Regions from separate parts of the Homo sapiens genome. Here all the other regions are linked to region 3. The links are contacts of gene promoters, found by promoter capture Hi-C in blood cells and fetal thymus (Javierre and others, 2016). All regions are on one chromosome and are shown on one strand. Each heading gives the region's core, a stretch centred on a gene start or on the middle of the fragment in contact. The rest is flanking DNA. Distances are from core to core; before and after follow the strand shown.

What was found. The method cuts DNA at HindIII sites, captures the fragments that hold promoters and counts their contacts. A CHiCAGO score of 5 or more calls a contact.
Region 1: a fragment that was not itself captured here is called in contact with the fragment with the promoter of IL21-AS1 in region 3 in 1 of 17 cell types (activated CD4 T cells); the score reaches 5.3 in activated CD4 T cells.
Region 2: a contact is called between a fragment that was not itself captured here and the fragment with the promoter of IL21-AS1 in region 3, in 1 of 17 cell types (megakaryocytes). The highest score is 5.9, in megakaryocytes.
Region 4: a fragment that was not itself captured here is called in contact with the fragment with the promoter of IL21-AS1 in region 3 in 1 of 17 cell types (megakaryocytes); the score reaches 5.5 in megakaryocytes.

What each region holds. Positions count from the first base shown.
Region 1 is chr4:122,307,322-122,313,413 of GRCh38, forward strand. BLTP1 (bridge-like lipid transfer protein family member 1) reads left to right here. Exons shown (of 88, transcript NM_001384125.1): 58 at 628-839; 59 at 1,945-2,143. Among named protein-coding and RNA genes, the nearest start is that of ADAD1, 69 kb to the right of the region's middle. The HindIII fragment of the contact is 3,592 bases long and covers 1,116-4,707 here.
Region 2 is chr4:122,931,952-122,938,413 of GRCh38, forward strand. It overlaps AFG2A (AAA ATPase AFG2A), which reads left to right. Exons shown (of 16, transcript NM_145207.3): 4 at 1,488-1,546; 5 at 2,146-2,787; 6 at 3,763-3,892; 7 at 4,149-4,205; 8 at 6,175-6,298. Among named protein-coding and RNA genes, the nearest start is that of AFG2A, 12 kb to the left of the region's middle. The HindIII fragment of the contact is 5,459 bases long and covers 1-4,097 here.
Region 3 is chr4:122,616,762-122,623,003 of GRCh38, forward strand. IL21-AS1 (IL21 antisense RNA 1) reads left to right here and starts at 2,222. Exons shown (of 11, transcript NR_104126.1): 1 at 2,222-2,731; 2 at 3,207-3,404; 3 at 4,107-4,310; 4 at 4,434-4,560. It overlaps IL21 (interleukin 21), which reads right to left and starts at 4,305. Exons shown (of 5, transcript NM_021803.4): 1 at 4,083-4,305; 2 at 3,940-3,975. The coding sequence starts at 4,250. RefSeq lists an enhancer at 3,392-4,591. The HindIII fragment of the contact is 3,552 bases long and covers 31-3,582 here.
Region 4 is chr4:122,949,626-122,956,106 of GRCh38, forward strand. All of the region lies in intron 9 of AFG2A (AAA ATPase AFG2A), which reads left to right. Among named protein-coding and RNA genes, the nearest start is that of AFG2A, 30 kb to the left of the region's middle. The HindIII fragment of the contact is 8,286 bases long and covers 1-6,481 here.

The sequences.
Region 1 (6,092 bases), core at 1,662-4,161, 310 kb before region 3:
GTAGCATCATATCAACATTCAGAAAGTTTTGGGATTTTGGATTTCGGATTAGGGATGCTCAACCTGCATTTGCTTTTCCTCCTACTTCTCTGGCCTCTCCATCTTTATGTCCTTTTTAGAGGCCCCTCCATCTATACACTGCTGTGAAATGAAGGTTTTCCTTAAGGTTTGTTTCTGTTTAACAAACTCAAACATCTTTGACTTTTCTCTGTAAATCAGATCCTTTTAATGGTATGTTCCTAGCATTATGTACCTTAAAGAATTTTAAAAGAAGTAACAGCTCTACAGATGAAGTTAAGCACCATGTCTGTTTTCATTTGTTATTCCATCCCAGTATCTAACATATAATAGGCATTTCACAAATAAGTTAGAGGGAATGAACAGACCTGGATTTTCTTCTTCCTTGTGCCATTATGTGGTTGCCTGCTTTCTGTTTTATTTTTTCATTTGTTATTTAAAAAATGGTGACTATATGTCCTCTTAGATCTTTCCTAATTCTAATGCTACAGTTTTCTGGGTGTAATTTTTATTAAGCAACAGGATTTTGCAGCTTTTGAGTTTTACTTAACATATAGATTTACAGTGTTGATTTTAATTTTCTTTCTGCCCTGTCTTAATTATCAAAAGCTGTGCTGTTTTGGCTGAATTATAAGGCCGCCTATGACAACTGGAATGAACAACGAATGGCTTTACATAAGGATATTCATATGGCTACAAAGGAAGTAGTAGATATGCTACCTGGTATCCAGCAAACATCAGCCCAGGCCTTTGGGACTCTTTTTCTCCAGCTCACTGTCAATGATCTGGGAATTTGCCTACCTATCACAAATACTGCACAGGTACAAAAAGTCAAGTCATATTCCAGGATTAAGAGCCAGGCATTTCTACATAACCATTTCTAAGTATTTAGAATATAACAGTACATTTTTCAGTGTAACAGTTTATAACTGTTTAGTAGGTAGCAAGTAAGATTGAATTCCTTCAACCATTACTCATCTCAATGTATTAAATCTTAATCTCATGGGACTTTTCTCTGAAGCACTCTTATATGCTTCAGAATAGTGATAAGATTGATACCCCCCAGATAACTCTTAATTTTTACCTTCATAAAAAGAAGCTTAGTTTCAGAATCATTTTATTGTTTTCTTTTTTAACAAGGAAGTCATTGGTATGGACTTGTTTATAAGATGGAAATAAAAGGACATTTAAGAATACTGTTTAATGAACTTAACCTGTAATAGAATAGGGAATTCCAAAATGCTTTTATACTGTAATATTTAATGGTAATGAAACTTCAAAGCAGTGTGCACATAAACCAGGAATTTTCTCTTTGCAACTTAAGACCAATTTTCAGGAATATGTAACTGCATGCACATGTGTGTATGAGAGAGAGAAAAGGCTATGAACACCTGTCAGGCCAAGAAGCAACAGTTATTAACAATAGCATATAGAGATCTATATTTTACTGTTACAATTTACCTTAATAACTTGTAACCAGTTGTTGAATTAATTTATCTTTTAGGATTCTGTTCGGTAAGACAGTGTTAAGAAAAACTTCAGGTTGAGGATGGGTGGCATTGGTATGTTTGTGTTTCAGGAACTGAAATATAGTAGTTTTTTAATAGCATAATGGGCACTGCCTAGGAAGGCCATAAACACCACAGGTGGGTGGCATAGTGAGATCATCTCCCCACAACTAAAAGAGAGGCTTGAGATAGAAATGTAGATAGCCCTTTGTATGTTAAGTAAGAAAAAAAATGCACATGGCAAGTACATTGCACTTAAGCAATTTAATTTTTAAAAGGCATCTTTCTAAGCTGCTCTTTAATGAACATATCTAGGCTTGACCGTTTCTAGATTTCTATTCCTATGAATCCTGTGAGGATTTCTAAGTTTAAAAAATTGTCACCTTTTGTCTTATTTCTTCTTTAATATATTTTGCAGTCTAATCATACTGGAGACCTTGACACTGGTTCTGCTTTGGTATTAACCATTGAAAGTACTCTCATCACTGCATGCTCTTCAGAGTCTCTGGTTAGCAAAGGGCATTTCAAAAACTTTTGTATCCGTTTTGCTGATGGATTTGAGACATCATGGGATGACTGGAAACCAGAAATTCATGGGGATTTAGTGATGAATGCCTGTGAGTATCTTTTATTTCTATATACAGTTTAGAACTTAAAAAATAAAACATTAAGTCTCCATTTGTGAAATTAAAAGATGCTTAGATATAGCAAATGTTTTTAGACTTTGAGAAAGAAGGGCTATTTCTAGTTACAGGTAACAAACCATATTCGTGAAAAACTACAGCATTGAGTAGTTTTGGTAAGTAAACCAACCAGGCATTCTTTTTGGTACTATAACATTTGAATGTTTACACAGTCCCTGATTTTTCCTGTAATTGATCCATGTTTGACCAGATAAAGCATTTTTGACCTGTCGGAATCTTGAAAAAAAATGATAAATGTGCAATATCCAACTCACCATAAAACACAGAACAGGTTGTAAATAGCCAGGACCAGGAACGCCAGCCTTAATTAATATTGACGTGAATAAATCCACATGTTCAAATTTGTAGGAGTGCAGAGTGTAACATGAATTCCTGCAATTCCATAATATTCAAGGTTGGGTATAACTAAAGCTGTGTTTATAGGCCGTATTGAAGATACGGAATTTATTTGTATATATTTTTATATTTTAAATATTATAGCAGAGTTGGTAAAGCATCATTAATCTTAATAATAAAGAAAAATTATAAATAAGGAGTTAAAAGGTTATGAACTAAAATTCCTCAATCTTGTAAACTAAATTACTTACTTTTTAGAAAGCGGTAGCCCATTGTTTATGTAATTTTTTCCTCTCTCCACTAGAGGGAAATCTTTCTACTTCCCATTTTCTTTGAGGAATGAGAAAATTTCTATTATTTTTACAAAAATTGAAGTTTTAGCATTCAAAATGAAAAAGTCTTGGTTTTAATGTGTAGGGAAGGAAAAATATCTTTTCCTACTACCCTTTTAGGCTATTTGCTGGGGGGCTTGTGTAATAAAAGACCAATTAATGAGAGAAAAGCATACAGGTTTATTTAATATGAGGTTTTTTTGTGACATGGAGCCTTCATAAGGAAATGAAGATCCAAAGAAATGGTTAAACCTGAGTATTTTTATGCTAGGTTTGATGAAGAGTAGAGAGTTGTAGAGCAATGTGAGAAAATAAAAAGGGGTATGAGTTAAGCGTAGTAAACTGGGGGAAACTAACCAAGGTCTGTTTGTTCAGATTCATCTCAGTGTCCCTCCACTTTGGAGATGAGGATGCTCCTTTCCTCTGGGTATAGGAAGGGCATCTCTCACATGTGGTTCATATGACCTACTTCAGAAGAAAGTCAAAGTCCTTCCTGCATCTGCTGCTTCTCAAATTGCTTCAGTTTAAAATACCTTCCATATGACAAGGTGCCATTTTAGAAGGCAGTGTGTACTAAACCCCATCAAATACTTTGCATTTAGATAATTATAGGTAAAATACCAGTACTTATTTGAAATACTTCAGGTTACTGAGAAGACTTGATATGGAAATACTCATGCCTATTATCCAAAAGACCAGTATCAGCCTACAACAGAAATCTTTATAGATTTATTATTTTACACAATAGTTATACATGGCTTTTTAAAAATCACTAAAACATATCTTTTGTTTTTTTAATAAAAGACAAAAATAAATTTAAACTTAGTGATTTTTATTAAGGTGACAGCTTTACCATCATTGTATTTATTAAAATAAGTAGAATATATTTGGAAAAAAAGGAAGTAAACCATTTCCTTAACAGTTTATCTTAAAGGGCAAATGCATAAGATATAAAATGAGAAATACGCTCTGACTCAGAATCAGAAACATGCATTAAAAAATGAACAAATAATTTAGCACCTCAGTATATATTCTGTTAATACAGAACACTAACATGCTGGTAATCATGATACTCAGAATAATTTATTTTGGGTTTTAGAGGGGACTAACTGACATGCTTCTGTAACATGCTTATTGTTTGGGTTTCTTGGGAGGGGGCCAGAAGGAGATAAGCAGAGTAGTTATGTAACTGACATATTTATAAAACTTCCAAATGATAAAATGGACAAATTAGTTTACTAGCTTATAGTTTTTATTAGTAATAAGTATACCTCAATATTTTTGAACAAAGGTGATGTGTATAGGGCAGAGAAATAAGGAATGTTAGGATTATGCCTTAGAATTTTTTTAACAGGTCATTTTTAAAACATACTCTAAAAAAAAAGTGACCCAGTAAAATTTCTTCTCTAGGTGATAATGTTTATTGAGAAATGCATTAGAAATTAACAAGGACAGTCTATAGGAAGAGTTCAAAGAACGATTTAAGTAGATAGTAAATATTAGGACAATATCATGAATGTGTATTCAGACAAAATAAACCATCAGAAGTTTAGATGTCTGCAAGCTCTCTGTAAAACCTAGGTAGCCTTTGGTCATCAGAGCAGAAAAATTACCATCCTGCATTCAGCCTAATGGTTGCTCCAAGTCATCATTCTGTCTGTGATACAGAAACCACAGGTATTATGGGGAAGAGACTAGTTGATTTCTTAGTCCTCATTTTCAGGATTCAGATCTACATCTAAAAATCGTAATATTCCTTATTAATTCATCGTGGCTCTATATTCTATGAGTTTATATATTCATCTTTTAAGCTTAATGTTTTTGTTGCTTTTTAGAGACAGAATCTTGCTCTGTTACCTAGGCTGGAGTGCAGTGGTGCCATCATAGCTCACTGCAGCCTTGAACTACTGAGCTCAAGCAATCCTCCCGCCTCAGCCCCCCAAGTAGCTGGGACCACAGGCACATGCCGCCATACCTGGCTAATTTTTAAATTTCCTGTATAGATGGAGTCTCACTATGTTGCCCAGGCTGGTCATGAACTCCTAGCCTCAAGTGATCTTGTGGCTTTGACCTCCCAAAGCACTGGGATTATAGGTGTGAGCCACCACACCTAGCCTTTAAGCTTAATTTTTAAAAATTCTCTACTACTCCTTGGGATAGGAAATCCTAAAAGTTTTCTTCTCCCTTTTTATTTACTAATTCTTCCTTTCACTTGGCCTCAGTTATGTTATTCAGATTTCAAAGGGTTTTCTTTTCATTCTAGCATTCTTGGATTTGAAAGGGTAATGTGGGTCTTATTGTTCAGATTTGTAACCATGACTACAAAGGTGAATTGGGTGATACTCCAAAATCAAATCTAGTTATTTCTTAATTAGAATTTGTATGTGAGACACAGGTACTATACAGTTCAAAGGTATAATTTAGATGTTAAACTTATTGGCAGTCTTTAAAAAAACATAATAACAAGTAGATCCTCTCTCACAAACTAAGTTGTAATATTTCTAAGTTGGAAAGATTTTTCCCTTTTGAAATTTTTCAAAGACAGAAATGTAATACCAAATTACCTAAAATATGAATAGTAAGCTCAAATTTAAGTAACATTTGAATACCAATTTAGGATTCTCAGAGTGAATTACAAAAGGACATTAAAGATATATGTACTCTGGAGTTTAAATTGATATTTAGTTTCTTCTAAGGATGACTGAGGAAGGTCTTAATTCTATGTTTAGAGTTTACTTTGTTTAAAAGTTGTTTCAACTTTTACTATGTAAAATTGTTGAATTTAATTAACATCTTTTTTGAAGCTGAAGTTACCAGATTAAAGCCAGTTGGTAGTAAATGTTTCAAAGTTAAAGTAGATATATTCTGGAGATAGGTCCATGATCTTGAGATTGACATCATAGCCTTCAGCCATTTTTTTTCTCATAAAATGTTCCATGTCAAAAGAGAAGGTAAGACTGATGAATCATGTGTCTGACCTAATGTGGCAGCTCTTAGTTACCAAAATTCTATTTTAAGTCATTTGCATTCTCAAAGTGCCATTCATTTATGATAACAAATTGTCACAGCATCCTGGATATTAGTAGATAAGCCATCTAGAGTGTCAGAGTTGGCCAGGTGTTGTCACTCAAATAAGGAAATCACATGCAGAAAGTAAAGCTAAAACTGCAGTTAAATTATTTAAATCATAGAAT
Region 2 (6,462 bases), core at 118-2,617, 310 kb after region 3:
TATATTGTATTATTACTGATAAAAGTGATTGGAAGCCAGACGCAGTGGCTCACGCCTGTAATCCCAGCACTTTGGGAGGCTGAGGTGGGTGGATCGCCTGAACTTAGGAGTTCGAGACCAGCCTGGGAAACATGGTGAAACACCGCCTCTACAAAAAATATATATGTATAAAAATTAGCTGAGCGTGGTGGTGAGCGCCTGTGTTCCCAGCTACTCCAGAGGCTGAGGTGGGAGGATCACTTGAGCCTGTGAGGTGGAGGTTGCAGTGAGCTGAGATCACACCACCGCACTCCAGCCTGGGTGACAGAGCGAGACCTCATCTCAAAAAAAAAAAAAAGTGATTGGAGAACAAGGTATTTTTTGACCAGATGGGCACACAGGCACATGCCACCACGTCTGGCTAGTTTTCTTTTGTATTTTTTGTAGAGATGAATTTTTGCCATGTTGCCCAGGCTGGTCTTGAACTCCTGAGCTCAAGCGGTCCACCCACCTCAGCCTCCCAAAGTGCTGGGATTACAGGCATGAGCCACCATGCTCAGTTCCAATCACTTACACTTCCCCTTGAGCTAAACTGTCCCCCCTCCACTGGTCACTGACAGAACTAGACAGCTGTTTGTCTCCCCTCCTGATATGGGCTGCTTATGCACAAGAGGAGGAGGAAAAATGCTCATGTTCTGAGAACTCCTCAAGAGCAGATTTCTTTATAAATGTATGATATTTAGGTGTGTTCACTTCCTGCACTTAAGCAACTCTCTGGGGTGACACAGTTATCATTAGGAAGGAGGGGATCTCATTTTTCCTTGGTCATGCCCTTTCTCCAGAAAAAAACCTTCATTGTAACCATTACTCCTCTTTTTCCTACTTCTGCCTTTTCAAGTAACATACTGTATAGGACTTAATTTTCTTGAAGAAATAATTTGTAAGTTATACTGAGAGAGTGAAGTAAGTTATTAATTAGAGTCTTTCTCCAAGCTAGGCAACTTTATAAAGGGAATTATTAGTTTAGGTCAGCATTTTAAAAATGTTTTTGCCTATGACAATAAAAAATGGATTTTTCATCAGATTCTTTGTATATACACATCCATAGATAATAGTGCTCATATGTGTGCATGTGTGTATGTATGTGTTAGAAGTTAATGTTTTACAAAGCAGTATTTACCCTTTCTATATTCAGTGTACCCTGCATTTCTTATTCTATTAACAAAGTGCTGAATGAGGCTGACTGAAATGATTTCATTACCCTTGTGTTTTGAAGAACATTGATTTAGGCCACTAAGGCACCAGATTCCAAATGATATTTTCATGGCTATATGTTTCTGAAAAATGCCCATCATTTCAAAATTGTATACATTATTTATTTTAAGGTTGCAGGTGGATTATTCTTTTGATTAAGTCTATATTATAACCATATACATGTAATTTTACATCACAGTTTAGTTTCTGGTGTACCTAATGCTGATTTCTGTTCCCTTCTTATCCTTTTACAGTGACAAAGATATGGAAATTAATGAAGAAGAACTGACTGGTTGTATCCTGAGAAAACTAGGTGAGACAAATATTTTAAATTGTTTTCTTAAGTTTTAAGCTGCAAGGCATCAGCAAATAAAGTGTCTTTGAGGGCTTATATATGCATAGTAGTTTTCTTCAAAATAGCTTTGAGAATATTCCCCTCAATGAATGAATATACTTTTAAGATAGGGATGTGCTACTTTTCCTGGTTAATTGGCAGTTGAGCAGTGGAAAGAATATATGACTTGTCTGTGGAAAGAGTCAGTGGTAGAATTGAGACTTTTAACCTTTGCATTCTTGCCCTTTCCAGTGACAGATGCTATCTTGGAGTGTTGGTTTGGGTGTGCCATTTTCATTTAGTTTATTATTGAATATGGAATGCCTGGCTATTTGTTGATGTGATTGATAGAATCTGAGATCTACTGAGTGTGGAGGATTTCAGAGAATCATTTCCTTCTGTCTCCAGATGGTGTTATAGGGGAATATTAGGTCCTCAATTTTTTATGACAATTATTTTATTAATACTCTGTCTTTGATTTAGTCTTTTCAGATAATAGATGAAATATATTGCTATTTAAACATTAAACTGGTAAAAAAAATTATGCTAACATGTATATTTAATATACTGTTTTCTAGATGGCAAGATTGTTTTACCAGGCAACTTTCTGTATTGTACATTCTATGGACGACCGTACAAGCTGCAAGTATTGCGAGTGAAAGGGGCAGATGGCATGATATTGGGAGGGCCTCAGAGTGACTCTGACACTGATGCCCAAAGAATGGCCTTTGAACAGTCCAGCATGGAAACCAGTAGCCTGGAGTTATCCTTACAGCTAAGCCAGTTAGATCTGGAGGATACCCAGATCCCAACATCAAGAAGTACTCCTTATAAACCAATTGATGACAGAATTACAAATAAAGCCAGTGATGTTTTGCTGGATGTTACACAGAGCCCTGGAGATGGCAGTGGACTTATGCTAGAGGAAGTCACAGGTCTTAAATGTAATTTTGAATCTGCCAGAGAAGGAAATGAGCAACTTACTGAAGAAGAGAGACTGCTAAAGTTCAGCATAGGAGCAAAGTGCAATACTGATACTTTTTATTTTATTTCTTCAACAACAAGAGTCAATTTTACAGAGATTGATAAAAATTCAAAAGAGCAAGACAACCAATTCAAAGTAACTTATGACATGATAGGAGGATTAAGTAGCCAGCTGAAAGCAATTAGAGAAATAATTGAATTGCCCCTCAAACAGCCTGAGCTTTTCAAGAGTTATGGTATGATGTCTTCAGTTTATTGCACCCAAAAATGTTAAATTCAAATTAAAAGACAGTTGACACTTATGTAATGATTGCTCATCCTCTTTTCCTGTTTTTATTTTCTGAGTAGTAGGTATGGTAGAAGATTTCAGTTGCTTTGGGAGATGCCAGTTAAATGGGCCATTTGCTATGCTTTGGTATTTTTAGGTTGTAATGTGAATTAGTGACAGCCTTGTCTCTTCTAATAGCATATTTCCACAATTACCTGTATTGGATCTAGAATAAGTATCTTGTCATGCTGGGTCATCTGTAATGACTGAAGGGATAAACCATTCAAATACATTAGGTAAAACTTCTTAGGAAATGTAACTGTGTACCCATCTCTTTGCACTGAAGCAGGTAATTACGGGAATGGCTTGACTCAGGAAACTCAGGGCTTCTGCTGCATTGTTATTGCCAAGATCCTTTGCATATATTTGCTGTGTCTGATCTCTCTGCTTTTTTCCTTTCTCATAAATCTTATATATACATACATGTATGTATATATATGTATGTGTAAAATGAACCCTTAGATTGGCATTTTGCTCATACTTATGTACCTTTTATACTAGCAAACGTATGTACTCTTCAAGATGGTTAGTTGGAAAAAAACTGGGATTGGTGGCTTGTCTACCTGTGTTGTCTGTGCTTGGTTTTTCGATCATTGATCTGTGTTGTGTGGGATGGGGCGTTGCAACAATGTGGGTGTCCAGTTTTTTTTTTTTTTAACCAACATGCTTCCTCTGTTCTGTGGTCTACAGAGAGAGAAAGTCATTGCTGGGTATCAGTGTTTGGGCTAGTTAGTACATCTTTCTGGAGGGGGAGAAAAAACTCTTGACTCTTTTTGTGACGCAAGGTAAAGTTAAATTTTATAACTCATGTTTGAACTTGTATGACAACATTTATAAGAAACCTAGTAATGGTGAATCTAGTGTTTTCTACTTTTTCTTCCAGGAATTCCTGCCCCTAGAGGAGTGTTACTTTATGGTCCTCCAGGTACTGGAAAAACAATGATCGCCAGGGCTGTTGCTAATGAAGTTGGAGCCTATGTTTCTGTAATTAATGGTCCTGAAATTATAAGCAAGTAAGTACATGATTTAATAGAGTAAACTTACTATTAAATATATTTCTAAAATGTGGTTTTTAAAAATGATTGTGTAGTATTCTGTGTGATATTTTGTACACTGAAATATTTTGCTTCTTAATAAAAATTGTTTGGAAAATTCTTTTTGAAAGTAATTTTAAGTATTATAGAAATATTGAAAATTTAGGTTAGCTTTTATAGACAAAGCTTTAAAAACAATAAGAAATGGTCTTTAAATGTATTTTATTTGTTACAGATTCTATGGTGAGACTGAAGCAAAGTTACGTCAGATATTTGCTGAAGCCACTCTACGGTACTCTTTATTTTTAAATGTTTTGGAATTAATAATCAAGGCTGTATTAGTCAAAGTGAGATACTAGCACCTTATACAAAGCATAAACAGTAGTACAAAAATTATAGTGATAGTGGTAGAAGTAGATTATAGATCTAATGAAATTCTATTTCTATCTAATCTTTAAAAGTTTGATAAATATTATTAAATTACATAAAGTAGAAGAATTAAGACATAGTGTTTGATAAGTCATGTGACCTTGTTTGAGCATAGAAATCCATGACTTTCTTTAGGTGCTTAGGTGTTTCTAATATGCTTAGCTTTTCTAGTAGACTGTATTATTGTATGTAGCTCTTTATACTAGAACTTTGTTATGTTATACTTTGCTTCAAAGGGACAAATCTTTTGCCCATTAAATAATGACTCTGGCTGGGTGTGGTGGCTCATGCCTGTAATACCATCACTTTGGGAGGCCAAGGCAGGAGGATTGCTTGACCCCAGGAGTTTGAGACCAGCCTGGGCAACATAGTGGGACCCTGTCTGTTTAAAAATAAAAATAATTGGCTGGGTGCGGTGGCTCACGCCTGTAATCCCAGCACTTTGGGAGACCGAGGCAGGCAGATCACCTGAGGTCAGGAGTTTGAGACCAGCCTGGCTAACATAGTGAAACCCCGTCTCTACTAAAAATACAAAAATTAGCCAGGTGTGGTGGCAAGTGCTTGTAATCCCAGCTACTCGGGAGGCTGAGGCAAGAGAATCTCTTGAACCCAGGAGGTGGAGGTTGCAGTCAGTTGAGATCGTGCCATTGCACTCCAGCATGGGGGACAAGAGCGAGACTTTGACTCGAAAAAATAAAAATAAAAATAATTAGTTGGGCATGGTAGCACATGCCTGTAGTCCCACCTACTAAGGAAGCTGAGGCAGGAGGATCACTGAGCTGGGAGATCAAGGCTGTAGTGAGCCATGATTTCACTGCTGCACTCTAGCCTGGGCAACACACACCCCGTCTCAAAAACAAACAAACAAGCAAAATCAAAACAGTGGTAGAGACATAGCCATATTATGAGTGACGTTATGTTTGACCAAGTTATAGACCAATATCCTAATACTCATTACAGTGTAACATTGAAATCTAAATTCCCTGAGCTCAAGTGATCCTCCCCCTGTAGCCTCCCAAGTAGCTGGAACTATAGGTGAGCACCACCATGCCCAGCTAATTTTTGTATTTTTTTTTCTAGCAACAGGGTCTTGCTATGTTGGCCAGGCTGGTCTTGAACTCCTGGGCTCAAGCCATTCTCCTGCCTCAGCCTCCCAAAATGCTGGCTGTCTTGGTGTTTAATATCATAACTACTGCTCTTGAATCAGAAAACCCACCATTTTTGAAGTTTATTTTTTTCCCCCAATGATAGTAGATGAAGTAAGCAGTTTGTAGTCCTAGTACTGTACTGAAAATTTGAAAACTAGTGGTACACCTTATTGTTTAGTATGCTTTTGTTGTTGTTGTGTTCATGGCAGTTGAGATTTCCTTCTGTGAGAGAATTCACATCTGTTTATGGGAGAATTGATCATCTTGCAAGTTTTTATTTTAATGGTTTAAAAATAACAGGGCATTTCTAGTTTATGTCCTTTGGTTTCAAACCTGCTCCAAGGGATAGTATCTCTGGCCTCAGCTTCTGAATTGATCCAGTCATAACAACTTAATGGGCATTACTGGGGAGAGTTCTTAAGAGACTCTTATCTTTTAAGCAGCATACTCTACTCAATTACCCAGCCTTTTAATGGAGGGCAGATAGAATAGAATATGAAGTTAGTGAATTAGTATTTTGGGCTAGAATGAATCTAAGGATTTTTAGCTTAACATTATAATATCTTTATAATATTAAGTGAATTCTAAATTTGATATGTTGCATTTCAGTTAAAAAAATTAAAACTAAGTAAAACTTAAAATCAAATATAGATGAGAGATTTCATTTTACTTGTTTGTTTTTAGACACCCATCAATTATTTTTATTGATGAGCTGGATGCACTTTGTCCGAAAAGAGAGGGGGCCCAGAATGAAGTGGAAAAAAGAGTTGTGGCTTCACTCTTAACACTGATGGATGGCATTGGTTCAGTAAGTATAGCACTAGTATTGATTCTGTGTAGGGTTAATTCTTAATACTTATGTGTAGTGGTAAAAACTATTGAATGTGTCAGAGTCTTTGGATATTTTAGGATAAAGGAAAAATATTAGCCATAGCAACTAGGGGAAAGATCTGTAAAATAATTTGCTTTAGT
Region 3 (6,242 bases), core at 972-3,471:
CTTGTTGAAAAATTTTAATGCTGATCCAAAAGCTTATATCCAGGTGACTTGTATCCAACTTACTTTTTTCTTTCAGCAAACGTGTGTATGTGATGCTATTTTCCCCCTGAAGTTGCTATATTTTCATTTCACTATGCATATGGAAGCTACTACCTTATAACCAGAAGCCTCAATCCCTCCCAGTCCCTACAAAGGCAGGCCTATACGTAACAATATTACCTGAATCTTCTTATGGACAATCAGCTGAACACAGCATCTGGCCTGCTTTGCATTTTCCAACCCATATGCTTACCCAATATGAATGTAGATTAATAATATGCATCTCTAAGACACAAACCTATCAGGTTTGCTTTGCATATATAGCCACAAGCCGAGAAGCAGCTTATCTGGTTTCCTTATATCAAGGCAGATTGCCTCTCATAAGGGCAAGGTGGTGTCCTTTCCATATGTTTGCCAAAATGCTTATTTAATAGAAACTATTTATAAATGTTCAATATAGCACTTTTTTTTCCTTGAAAACCACACGTTCATGTTTGTTGAAGTTTTTTCTTTTCTCTTCTTTTTGACCACAACCGGCTTAACTTACTGGAAAAAATAATATTCATATTTAAAGAGGTAAATTTTCCAGCTGAAACTGAAAATACTGACTGCTTCATCCGTGATGATCTGAAAAACCAGCATTTCTCACAGAGGCTCATTTTGCTGAGTTAACATTTACATGTGTATGCTGAAAGAAAATTAGGTTCCAAAGAAGTAGAGGGGCCCTGCCAGCCAAATGAACTCCCTTGAGATAATATTGCCAGGAATGGTCAGTACCGGTACTCAAAGCACTGAAATTGTAAAACTACAATTTCAGTTGTAAAAACAACTGAAAATCTTTTCTGAAAGCCTTTGAATGGTACCTGGACACTGACGCCCATATTGATGGGGCTGTGCTTCCTCTCCCACCCTTCCTTGTTTACCTCTGTTAACAGACAATGGGGTTTTGTTTTCTTCTGTTCTGCAAGCAGCAGAGCTGTGTCTGGCAATATGTGGTCCAGGATAAATAACTGCGGGAATTGGCTTTATATGCACATCAAAGGCAGCCTCAAAAGAGGAAAAGAAGTAGAGGGCTGTCGCCACTAAACTGCCTTAAGGATGTATTGAGAAGGAGAGTGAAAAGATTAACCTTGATTTAGGCAGCCTCAGGTGCCCTATCACTCAGGAGTCTACAGGATGCCAACTCCATATTTAGCACTGTCTGGAAGCATGAACATTGCTTTCCTTTGCTATGCCTTGGTGACAACAGACTCCAAAGGCAAGACTTTGTTTCCCTCATGCTTTAACATATGAGAACATGAGGAGTTTTCTGCTGCTACATTGTTTTGCAGACTAGAAGGAGCGGTAGTAAAGTCAAACGCAAGAATTAACAAACCATTCCTCTTCAGCTGAAGAACAAGTCAAGTGCTGCTTTTGCCAGGAGTCACACTTGGCTTTGTTGTTTTGCAATTGAATTTTTGAAATTTTTTACCTCCTTAGGGCTTTTTTTTTTTTCTTTTGTAGAAACAGGATGTCTCACTATTTTGCCCAGGTTGTTCTCAAACTCTTGACCTCAAGCAATCCTCCAAACTTGGCTTCCCAAAAGGATTACAGGCATTGGGATTACAGGCAGGAGCCACTTCACCCAGCTGAGGCCTATTTTTACATTTTTTTCCTTTTGCAAAGAAAGCCCTGGCCATTCACACTAAGAAGTCTTGCTAATTGGGCAAGACTACCTTTGTCCTGGCTGGGTGCAGTGGCTCACGCCTGTCATCCCAGCACTTTGGGAGGCCAAGGCAGGTGGATCACGGGGTCAAGAGATTGAGACCATCCTGGCCAACATGGTGAAACCCCGTCTCTACTAAAAAATACAAAAATTAGCTGGGTGTGGTGGCGTGCGCCTGTAGTCCCAGCTACTCGGGAGGCTGAGGCAGGAGAATCGCTTGAACCTGGGAGGCAGAGGTTGCAGTGAGCTGAGATCGCACCACTGCACTCCAGCCTAGCAACATATCGAGACTCCGTCTCAAAAAAAAAAAAAAAAAAAAAAAAAAAGGATTACCTTTGTCCTACACACAAACTAGGTTTATATCAGGGTTTCTCAACGGTGATACCACTGACATTTGGGGCTAGATAATTCTTTGTTGTCAGGGCTGTCTTGTGCATTCTAGAATGTTTAGTACCTGGCTTCTACCTACTAGATGCCAGTAGCACCCCCATTCTACCTCCAAGTGTGACAACCAGAAATTTTTCCAGCCAATGCCAAATGTTTTCTGGGGCACAAAAATCACCACCGGTTGAGAACCACTGGTTATATGATTAGACGGAAAGAAAAAGAGAAAAAGAAAGATGCCTGGCTAGGCCAATTAGAGATCTTAGATAATTACTATATGCATGCAACATTAGATAGTTTTATTTTCATTAAACTTTTAAATCTTTTAAAATCTCTTACAGACCCTACTTTGAAGCTAGCTTGATATAATGCTAATGTGACCTTGAACGATTTCTTTCTTCCTGAGTTTGCCTACTAGTATAGCTTAAAGATCCAAGTTACACTATTACTCACTTATATCATAGCCAGCATTGCTTGATCAGATTATCAGATAGATACAGTATCACGGAGACAAAATCCTTTCATTATGATGTAAGATAAAAAATATCTTTCATTAACAACACACGTAAAGGAAGTACCCACTGGACCAACTCAGGTTAGAAGGTGGAATCTCTTTCTTATTTCTTATTTTGCAAGTTATAGACTACAGCCAGGAAACTCTGGAAAGAACTCTAACCATAACAGTTAAACAAGGTGCATGAGATGCTAGAAATGTATGTTTTGATAATTAGGCACATTGATTAAGAAGTATTTTCAGTTATTGGAAAAGTCTTTCCAATAAGCTGAATGTGCTACTTTCATTTTAGATGCTGCTTATTAGAAAAGGACCTAGTAAATGAGAGTGTTTGGGTTCAGAGCTAGAGAGTGAATTTTAGAGAAAAGCAATAGTTGTGACTCATTCACTTTCTAAACTTTTACACATAGTCATTTACGATAATTGTTTTCTTTGCAATGTATCTTCTTAAGTCTCCCCCTTTGTAGTGTCCTAATTACTGGTAGCACTTTTAGTTATTCTAATTTATGCAATTAAAGGTCTGTGACAATGAAAACATTTCCCCAATTGCATTTATACTCTCAGGGTACCAGACCAGAAGATCAGATCGTAGAAGTTACTGGAGAAAAAGATCAGCGGACAGCACTCTTGAACTACATGCCAGGCCTCTTCTTCCTGGAACTCTAATGGATTTAAATGGCTTAAGAGACGGGATGAATTGTTGAAAATGGTTCTTTCAAAAGACCTCACGGAAGGCCAAAGACAAGACTCACTGAGGCCAAGGTATATGTGAATTATATTCTGAAGGACAGCTTTGATTTCCACACCACCATTTCTCCATGCTGTCCCTGTAATCTAATTCTTTCTTTCTTTCTTTTTTAAGTTTGTTATTAAAAGGTTAATTCTGCTTCCTACTGTATGTATCTATGTTTCTTCGGTAGGATAACAAAGAAGGCTCAAAAGCTTTCATGCCCAAGGGCTCTTAAAGAGTAACTAGCTGTGCATTGTTCAGAAACTGATCAGAGTATAGATTTCGTTTCTAGTTTTGTTATTCTGTCTCAGCAATACTACTTAGGAGTACTCTTAGAGATTCTTGAAGATAAACATAGTTTATGAGGAATATAATATAGCATTTTTTAGTTGGTTTTTGGTAAATCAATGAATTTAACCAAAATATAAATAAATATTTCATCAATTATTAGACCGCTAAGTTCATTAAAATTCAGTATACTCCTATATAATCATGCTAATGTCTTTCTTATTGGATTTAAAAACTTATGTCCAATGTATTTTCAGAAATAAATTCAACTGGTCTTACCTCTACATCTTCTGGAGCTGGCAGAAATTCAGGGACCTAGAGCAAAAGAAAATTTGTTCTGAGTTATTTTTATAAGCCAAACCCTCCTTTTATATTAATTGAAAAGTATGATTTAGATTTTGTTGTGACAAATATAGTCTTACCAAGTCATTCACATAATTTTTCAGCTGATCAACAATATCTATAAGTTGACGCATTCTAATCATGTGGCGATCTTGACCTTGGGAGCTTGATTTGTGGACCAGTGTCCCCAAGAAGATGACCATCAGACAGATGACAATCCTCTCCATGTTGCCAGGACTGGATCTCATAAGTACCAACAGTAGAGCTAGACCTTGGTCTCGTTTTCACTTCAGCTTGACTGAGAACAGGTTGTCAGTTAAGCTACCTATTTATTCATCCTTCAGGGAGAGGTAAAGCCCTCCCATTGCAGCCTGGAAATCTTTGTAAAATGGATGAATGTGAGTAACTCTTTTTTCTTTTCCACTGGCTAGGTATACGTGTGCATGTGCTAATGTGTGGGGGCAGGGATTGATGGAGTCAACGAAATGTGCCCCATCTGCATCTTTGACAGGAAAAAGAGAGAATGGGTGAATTCCAATTTTCAGCATGAATCAAGAAGTATGTATAATAAACAGTAGGTACTACAAGACTTCAAAAAAGTAAACAAAAACACTTTGATCTCTTTTTCTCGGCCTCCCCTGGCATCTTACCTGTTCTCTCTGACAGTCATAAGGGCACTTTGATAATGAGTAAGATGGCAACATGTGCTTTCATGCAGGACTTTTTCTTATGGTAATAACTATGTCTTTTGACTAAAATCATCCAGTATTCCATCATAAAAGTAGGAGGAGAGGCTACCTTTTAGGAAATTTTAAATAAAGAGGTATTTTCCAAATTAGCAAGAATATTTTAGGTTCTTACCAAGTTTCAAGGGTTTAAAATAGAATTTGCTTCCAACTGTTCACCAAAGCATCTTTACTAAGCATTTATTTTGGCTTCTGTCATGTTATTTAACAATCTGATTTATTAATATCACAAATGATTCTAAGGGAGTTGATAGAAAATCTATCCTTCCCAATCAAGATCTCACTCTACCATCATTTTAAAAATTATCTAATGTCCATCTCTTCTATATAATACATCAATTAAATGAGTCAAACTTGCTAATGCTCATTCTTGTCCAAACCAAAAAATGTTTCCAAACAGCAAAATAAAATATACCCATAAATGATTCGTTTTCTCTTAGGGTAGTGTTACTTATTTCTGTTAGATACTATTTCCTCTGGGTGTGAGCAACACATTTCTAACTGCATCTGTGACCGGGTAGAGGTTAATTAAAGATCCAAAGCCCAGAAATGGTTTTATCATCCTCCTTTCTTCTGCTTCTCTTGTCCCTGAGACTCTTTTAACCCATTTGAGAAAGTTGAATATAATATTCTAGCTAGAGAGTCATGTACTATATAAGACCATAGGTCTTATAAGTGAAACTCTTGACTATAGATTTTATTCATTCATTCATTCATTCATTCATTTCATTACATACTTTAGAATACCATACTTTATTCTAGACTGTTACGTAGCCAACATAAATTGGAGTTTTCACTTGATTTGCTCTGAAGTTGACTGTAATCTTTTTATTATGGAATATCTATTCAAGAGTATACAGGTTTGGCCTTATACAGTAGATAAGAGTTCATACAACATGATCAAGAATTCCTCCCTGTAATAGTTAAATTCTATATGACAAGATTCTGTGCAACTTATGAATGCATGTGGACTAAGGGTTGCCACTTGGTGCCTCCACATTGCCTGTATGGTCTTTGTACATGCACTCCTTATCCACCTAAACAGATGTGCATCTCCTTGAAGACACTAACCACGGTGGTTAGGAGGTCAATTTCTAAAGCTTGAGTTCAAATCAAGGTCCTAACAATTAATAGCACATATGATCCTGTGTGTGTAATTGCAAAAGGAAGGCAAGTACAGAATCTACTCATAGGGTTGTGATAAGGCTTAAATGAGACATTCCAAGTAAAAGGGCTAAGTACAGCACATAACATCCCGGGAGGTTTGCATGCTGATCGTGGATGAGGGTGAAGGGGAGAACTTTAAGAAGCCTAGGGGAGGCTAAACTGATCAGAGAAGGAGGAGAATGGACAGATCAGTGTTCAGCCAGAATACACTTGTGTGGTTGTACTGGTGGTTTAACAAAAAATAAAAAAGTCAAATATCTTTCATACTGCCTAGAGAGAACCATTGCTCCTGGCCCTGGAGTGCCTCACCACTATGTTAGACAACCC
Region 4 (6,481 bases), core at 1,236-3,735, 330 kb after region 3:
AGTCCTGGCCATTTAACAAGACATGGGGAGTTGTGTCATTCTGAGAGAGCACCACCCCTGGCAGCAGCCTGATGCCTGGTTTACAATACCAAATGGACTGGCTCCCCTCTGTAATGTGTTGCAGGAGGCCAGAGGAAGACAGTGGAGGTATAGTGTTTCATGAGAGGATGTTCATCCCCTTGCACAAGGGAGGACTAGGATTCATTATTTTAGAATTACAGTGGAGAGTATGGTATGAAATAGGTGTGACATATATATCCTGTTCTAGGCCCTTCCCCCATGGAGCAGAAAAACTGAACCATCGGGCTGGTTTGCCATTTCCCAGAACCACGTAATGATGTGCTCCCCAGTAGGTTGGTCCTGTGGCAAGGGCCATAGCAGATTACTTTGTGTCCCAGGTTGGGGGCAAAGGTCTGCTGTCCCTTACCCTGTCTACCTGTATCCTGATGGTCGTATCACATCCTTGTGTTAGAAGAGTATACATGATGGGGTGATGAGAATGTGCATATTTATTCAGTTTGTGCACGGCTGCTGGTAAGCAGCGTGTCCACAGAGCCAACTCCTATAGGAGTTGTTTCAACAGTCCATTCAATTTGTTCAGTCAGCCCCACTGCTGTAGGGTTGTACGGCAGGTGAAAATGCCAGTGGATATCCAGGGCCTCTGCCTATTCTTGTACTTTATATCTGGTAAAGTACGAGCCCTAGTCATTGTTAATTTTTTTTTTTTTTTTGAGATGGAGTTTCGCTCTTGTTGCCCAGACTGGAGCGCAATGGCGCGATCTCGGCTCACTGCAACCTCCGCCTCCTGAGTTCAAGCAATTCTCCTGCCTCAGCCTCCTGAGTAGCTGGGATTACAGGTGTGTACCACCACACCTGGCTAATTTTTTGTATTTTTAGTAGAGACAGGTTTCACTATGTTGGGCAGGCTGGTCTCAAACTCCTGACCTCAGGTGATCCACCCGCCTCAGCCTCCCAAAGTGGTGGGATTACAGGCGTGAGCCACTGTGTCTGGCCCATTGTCACTATTGATGGAGACGCTGTAGGCTGCACACATCTGTTCTGGTCCTTTTATGGTGGCATGCTTGCTGGGTTATGCTCGTTGTAGCCCTGTGCAGGTTTCTGCACAAGTTAAGGCATAGTGGCAGCCATCCAATAGGGGCAAAGATCCTATGTAGTCTACCTGCCACCATTGTGCTGGGCTCTGGCCCTGGGTGATCTTTCTGGTATCAGGTGGCAAGGGCCTGGGGTGTTCCTGTGCACGGGTAAGACATTGCTGACAGATGTGTACTGTGTCTTTGTATCATAGTGGCAGGCTCCAATTCTTTGCTATGGCCCAAAGGGTAAGTTGTCCCCTATGTCCTGTCTTCTTTTGTAACCAGTTGACCACATCGTCTGTGGGGACTCCCTTGAGGAGACGAATGCAGGTTAATTTGTCTGCCTGTTGATTTCCAGGTTGGTGTAGATGCAGTGTGGGGATCCACATGGTAGATCATTTTATGCATCCCCCAGATGCAATGGGGAATGTCCTTCTACATGTCAGGGCACCAAAGGAGGTGACCTGCTACTGTCTAGTCCTGTGCTTCCCATTGTAGTAGCCACATGGTGAGTCCCTTTACATTGGATTAGGTAAAAGTAATCTAGAGATTATTTAAATTATATGGGAGGATGTACATAGGCTACATGCAAATACTGTGCCATTTTATATAAGAGGCTTGAGCTGTCCTTAGATTTTGGTATCTTAGGGGTCCTGGAACCGATACCCCATAGATACTAAGGGATGACTGTATCCTATCAGACTTTTCCAAAGTACACACACACACACACACACACACACGCACGCACACACATGTAATCAGATGCATTGTTGGCAGTATTGATGAAGACAATATTTATTGATATATCGTGCTGTGGAAATCAGGGAGAAATGTGTACTGGAGAATCACAATTTTCCTTAAGGAATGTCATGCCGGATGCCTGTTAACTTCAGACAGCCCACCTGTGAGTACACAGGACTGCTGGGTCTGGCTTATAGAGGAGGACCATCCTGGCAGCTTGCAGCTCAGCTCATTGGCTGCTATGTCCTTGGCCTGTATCATCAATCCAGATCCTGTCAGTGGATGGCTGGATGGCTATGCCTGCTCAAGTGCAAGGATTGCCTCGTGACAAGCTGTTTGTGTACCAGGCCTGGTCAGTCATTGGGCGGTCAGACATTGGGCCCTGTCTATCCTGTATGAAGGAGAGCATCTGTGGAGGCTCAGCAGCCTCCCTAAAAGACTATGTGACAGTTGTTACATAGATGACAGGGCCAAGCACTGAATGGAGCTCTGAGCTCAAGGGGCTATTAATGTGCTCCTTTGTTGCAGGTATGTAAGCCATTTGGCCACAGTCTGTGTCTGGGCATTCCCAGACTTCAGTTTCTGGAAGATACCCTTTAGCCAACCTGCTTTGGGGTACTGGCTGCATACTAGCATCAGGACCCCTTTTGTAATGTCCTCTACTTGTTGTAAGGCATAATGTATAGCACAGAGTTGTTGTTCCATCACACTGTATCTAACTGCACCCTTTTTCCGTAGCTGGGACCAGAATCCTAAAGGCGCATATGTATGTCTCTGCCTTTGCCACGGGCCTCACCCAAACCCCTCAAGGTAACTGGCTACATCTAGTTCACAGGCTGTCTCTGCACCTGAACTCACAAGGCTTGTATTTATTTCACTGTGACTTCAGCTGGTTCAAAGGCCTCATCCTTCTTCGTGGATTAGTCTCAGTGGGCCCCCTTCTTGACTAAACAGTATAGGGGTCTAAGGAGTTGGGCCAAATGAGGAATAAAATGATGCCCATACCCTAGGAGTCCTAAGAAGATTTATAGCTGCTTTGGTGTCACACGATGTGAGTAGGCCTGCACCCTATCCATAATGGCAGACTCAAGTATTTGGCTGATAAGCCTGGACTCTGGATTTTTGTCTGTGTTTATAGCTCATCCTGTTTGCCAGATGAGGCAGCAAGGTGTGAGGGCGCAGTTTGAAAGCTGGAAAAAGACTCAGAAGTTAGCACGATATCATCACTGTAATGGAAAATGTGTACCCCTTCCAGGACCTCCATGGCTATATAAATATCCCTGGGGCAAGATGGTAAAAGTCTATTGTTCTTCCCAGGTGAATGCAAATTGGTCTTGACTCTCTGCGGCAATGGGGATGCTGAAGAAGGCATTGGTTAAATCAGTAACAGAGTGGTAGTGGTATGTGTCCAGTGCCTCTCCCGCCCTCTTTAGAAGGGAGGTGATATTGGGAACATGTGCATACATTGGGGGGACTGCCTTACTTAATTCCCAGTAATCTAGTGTCATTGTCCATGTCCCATCAGGCTTCCACATGGGCCGTACATGGCTGTTGTATGGGCTGTGCACTGGCCTTGTAATGCCTCCTTGGGCTAACTCCTTAACAATCCCTGTGGTTTCATTATGTCCCCCCAGCAGGCAGTATTGCCTCAGTGCTACTACTTGCTGTGTGGGGTTGGCAACTAGACTGGTGTCCATTTCGCATTCCCCTTGGTCACATGCTTCACCACTCTCAGTCAGAACTCCCCAGCAGTTGTTTGGAGGGTCAAGCCTGATAAGATATCCATTCTCAAGATGTATTCCAAGATGGGAGCTATACATACTAAATAGGGTTTTGGTGGCAGTCTCTCAACTTGTAATACTCAGACAGTTCAACCTTTCTGATCCCCATCCATAACCATCTTTTGCCATTTTAGCCCCTTGGAACCAACGAATGTCACCATATATGAAAGTGCATTTGGCTCTAGTATCCACTAGGGCACGCACAGTGTGTTTATTCTTAGGCGACCAATATATAGTTAGTTCTACATGTGGCCTCTGGTCCCCAGGTACCCTGGCCACCATTACTCTTATCAGGGTTCTGGGGCCTTGGCTTTCATCCAGTCTAACAGGGTTGACACTTGCTATCCCTCTGCAGGAAGGGTGGCGGGCTGAACCTGAGGCTCCTTAGTGAAGCACTCTTCTGGTGTGAGCTTCTGCCACAGTCTGACCAGAACAGCATTAGGCTGTTTATCTGTTTTCATAGTAGCTGTTCCTGCCACTACCAGGTTGTGCCACATTTGTTGGTCAGTCACCCTGATGGGCCCCTTGGCCATCTCCTTTCCTTTGGCGCCCTTGTCTTTCATCCCAGCAGCACGTACCCTTTGCCTATGCAGTTTCTCCATTTCTCATAAGTTGGTGGCTGCTTGGGCCACCTGAGACACTGGCTGTCCTACTAGGGGGCTCTGGGTAGACACTAGCACACCATACCATTGGTTGAGTGCAGACTAAGATGGTGTCTTTCATGTTGGCAGTGAAAAGCTCTTTGTTGGACCTTGGTGATGTTCAGCATAGATAGCATGTTTCATCCCTAATTTCCAGATGATGTCCTGCAATTCCTCCATAGTCTGCCATCACAAAGGAGATATGGGGATACTGCCCTCATCTGGCCACGCTTCATTGCAGCCCACAACCACCCAGCTAAGGAGGGGCATGGCCTGATCCTCATTGTTGGCACCATAGAGGTGCTGCCTCAGGGCTGGGTGGCATGCGATGTATGCCATTCCACTCATCTTGAGTCTGGAGAGTATAACACCCTCCATCCCCGTGTCCCATAGACAGAGAAGCCACCTCTCAATCAACTGTCTCTCTTCCTGAACCCACCTTCTGCCCAGCTCCACTAGTTCCATAGTGGTGTAGTGCTGCATTGTGGTATGCTACCATCTTTCAGGCAGAGACAAGTTTTGTGGGTCTACTCCCTGCAGGCACCATTGGTCTGACTTTATCTTGGTAGAGAGAACAGGACCTCTATGGGCTTATCCCAGTCCTCACTCTGCTCCTCACTAGAGCTCTCCACTGGGTCCCTGGACTTAGGAAGATTTAGTCATATAGTCCTAACTTGGCATGGGAGCTGGCGACCCTTCAAACAGGCTACCTGACAAGCTGGGATTTCCATTTTGTCATCCTGTTTCTGCAGGTAGGACAGTAGGGTCTCTGATGTTTTAGGTTGAGCTAGTCTGGCATCTCTTTCTACTCATAGTTCTTCCTATAACAGACAACCCCTGGCCTGTGCTGGGAGCTCAGCCTCAGTGGCTGCTGGGAGCACAGTCAAGAATGGCCAGCCATTGTGGCTGCCACAGCTCAGGCATCTAACTTTTGCTTAGTTAGATCCACCCCCTGCAACAGCTCTTCCAGACCCTTCGGTGTTTTTGGGGTGTTCTGTACTCATACATTGGGTCCCATCCATCAAGGATAGTGGCTTTTGGGCACCACATAAATGTGATGGTCAGCCCGGGACCCCCCCTTGGATTTCCCCTTTCCTGATCTTACGGTCTCGGTGCTCATGAAATTTTTCTCCACCTTCCTGCTGGGTTCACCAGTTGTGGTACTGAGTCCGTGTTAACTTCTGTAAGGATGGCACCAGGTTCAAGAGGCAAAAGAGACCTGGAGCTAGCAAACAAGACATAGGGTTTTATTAGGGAGAACTAACATACAGGGACAGTCCAGTGGTGGTGGACTAGACAGGAGAACCTCAACTGCTTGCAAAAAGCATGCAGCTTATATAGCACTTTTATTTGGCACCCTCCGTGCAGCAGCCTTCACGTGGCAACCCTCCTTTCTTAAGTTATTGCTCTCAGGTGCATTTGCCATACACCCACTCCCACCGTAATGGCATTAATCCATTCCTGAGGATTAATGTTGTTACGGTCTCATGGCCTAATCGCCTCCCAGTGGTCCTACCTCTTAATACAATAAAAATATCAATTAAATTTCAACATGAGTTGTGGAAGGGACATTCAAACCATTGCAGTTATTTTAGAGCTTTAGTTCAGAAATACAAATGCAATAACTTTTACCTCCAAATCATTGACTCATAGTTGTCTAATTTAGTAGGCTTTGAAGACCCTGCCTTTAGTCTTTTTGACCTTTTATCTGGACTGATATATGTAGGGAAAGAGGCTCAAGAAGGAAAAACAGTTAGGAAAAGAAAACTTGGAAGAGATATTTAGGAATCTTTGAATATCTTACTGTTGGTGGAGAAAATCGTTTTTCTTTCATTTTATTTGATCATTACCACAATTTCTAGGTTATAGGAATCACAGTTGGGAGAGACTGCAGGTTATGTAGACTATCAAGGCAAATACAAACATTCTTTTGGTACATTTTGCTCTAGGACTGGGTCTCACTCTGTCTAGTTTCTGTGAAGCTGCTTCTAGCGTCACAGGGATTAGTGGGCCTGGTCGTAGAAATGGATTACCTAGGGATCAAAAAGCAGAAGTATCAGTAGATAGCTTTGCTTCTTTCATTGCATAAGGTGGTAATGAAGAGTCTGGATTGCTGTGTAGGTGTTGCTCTGTAGGACTTGCCATGTTCAGCATGCCTTACTAGAGACTTTTTGACTTTCTAATACATTTTATGCACTCTAGAAGGCTCTGGAATTTTTGCTGT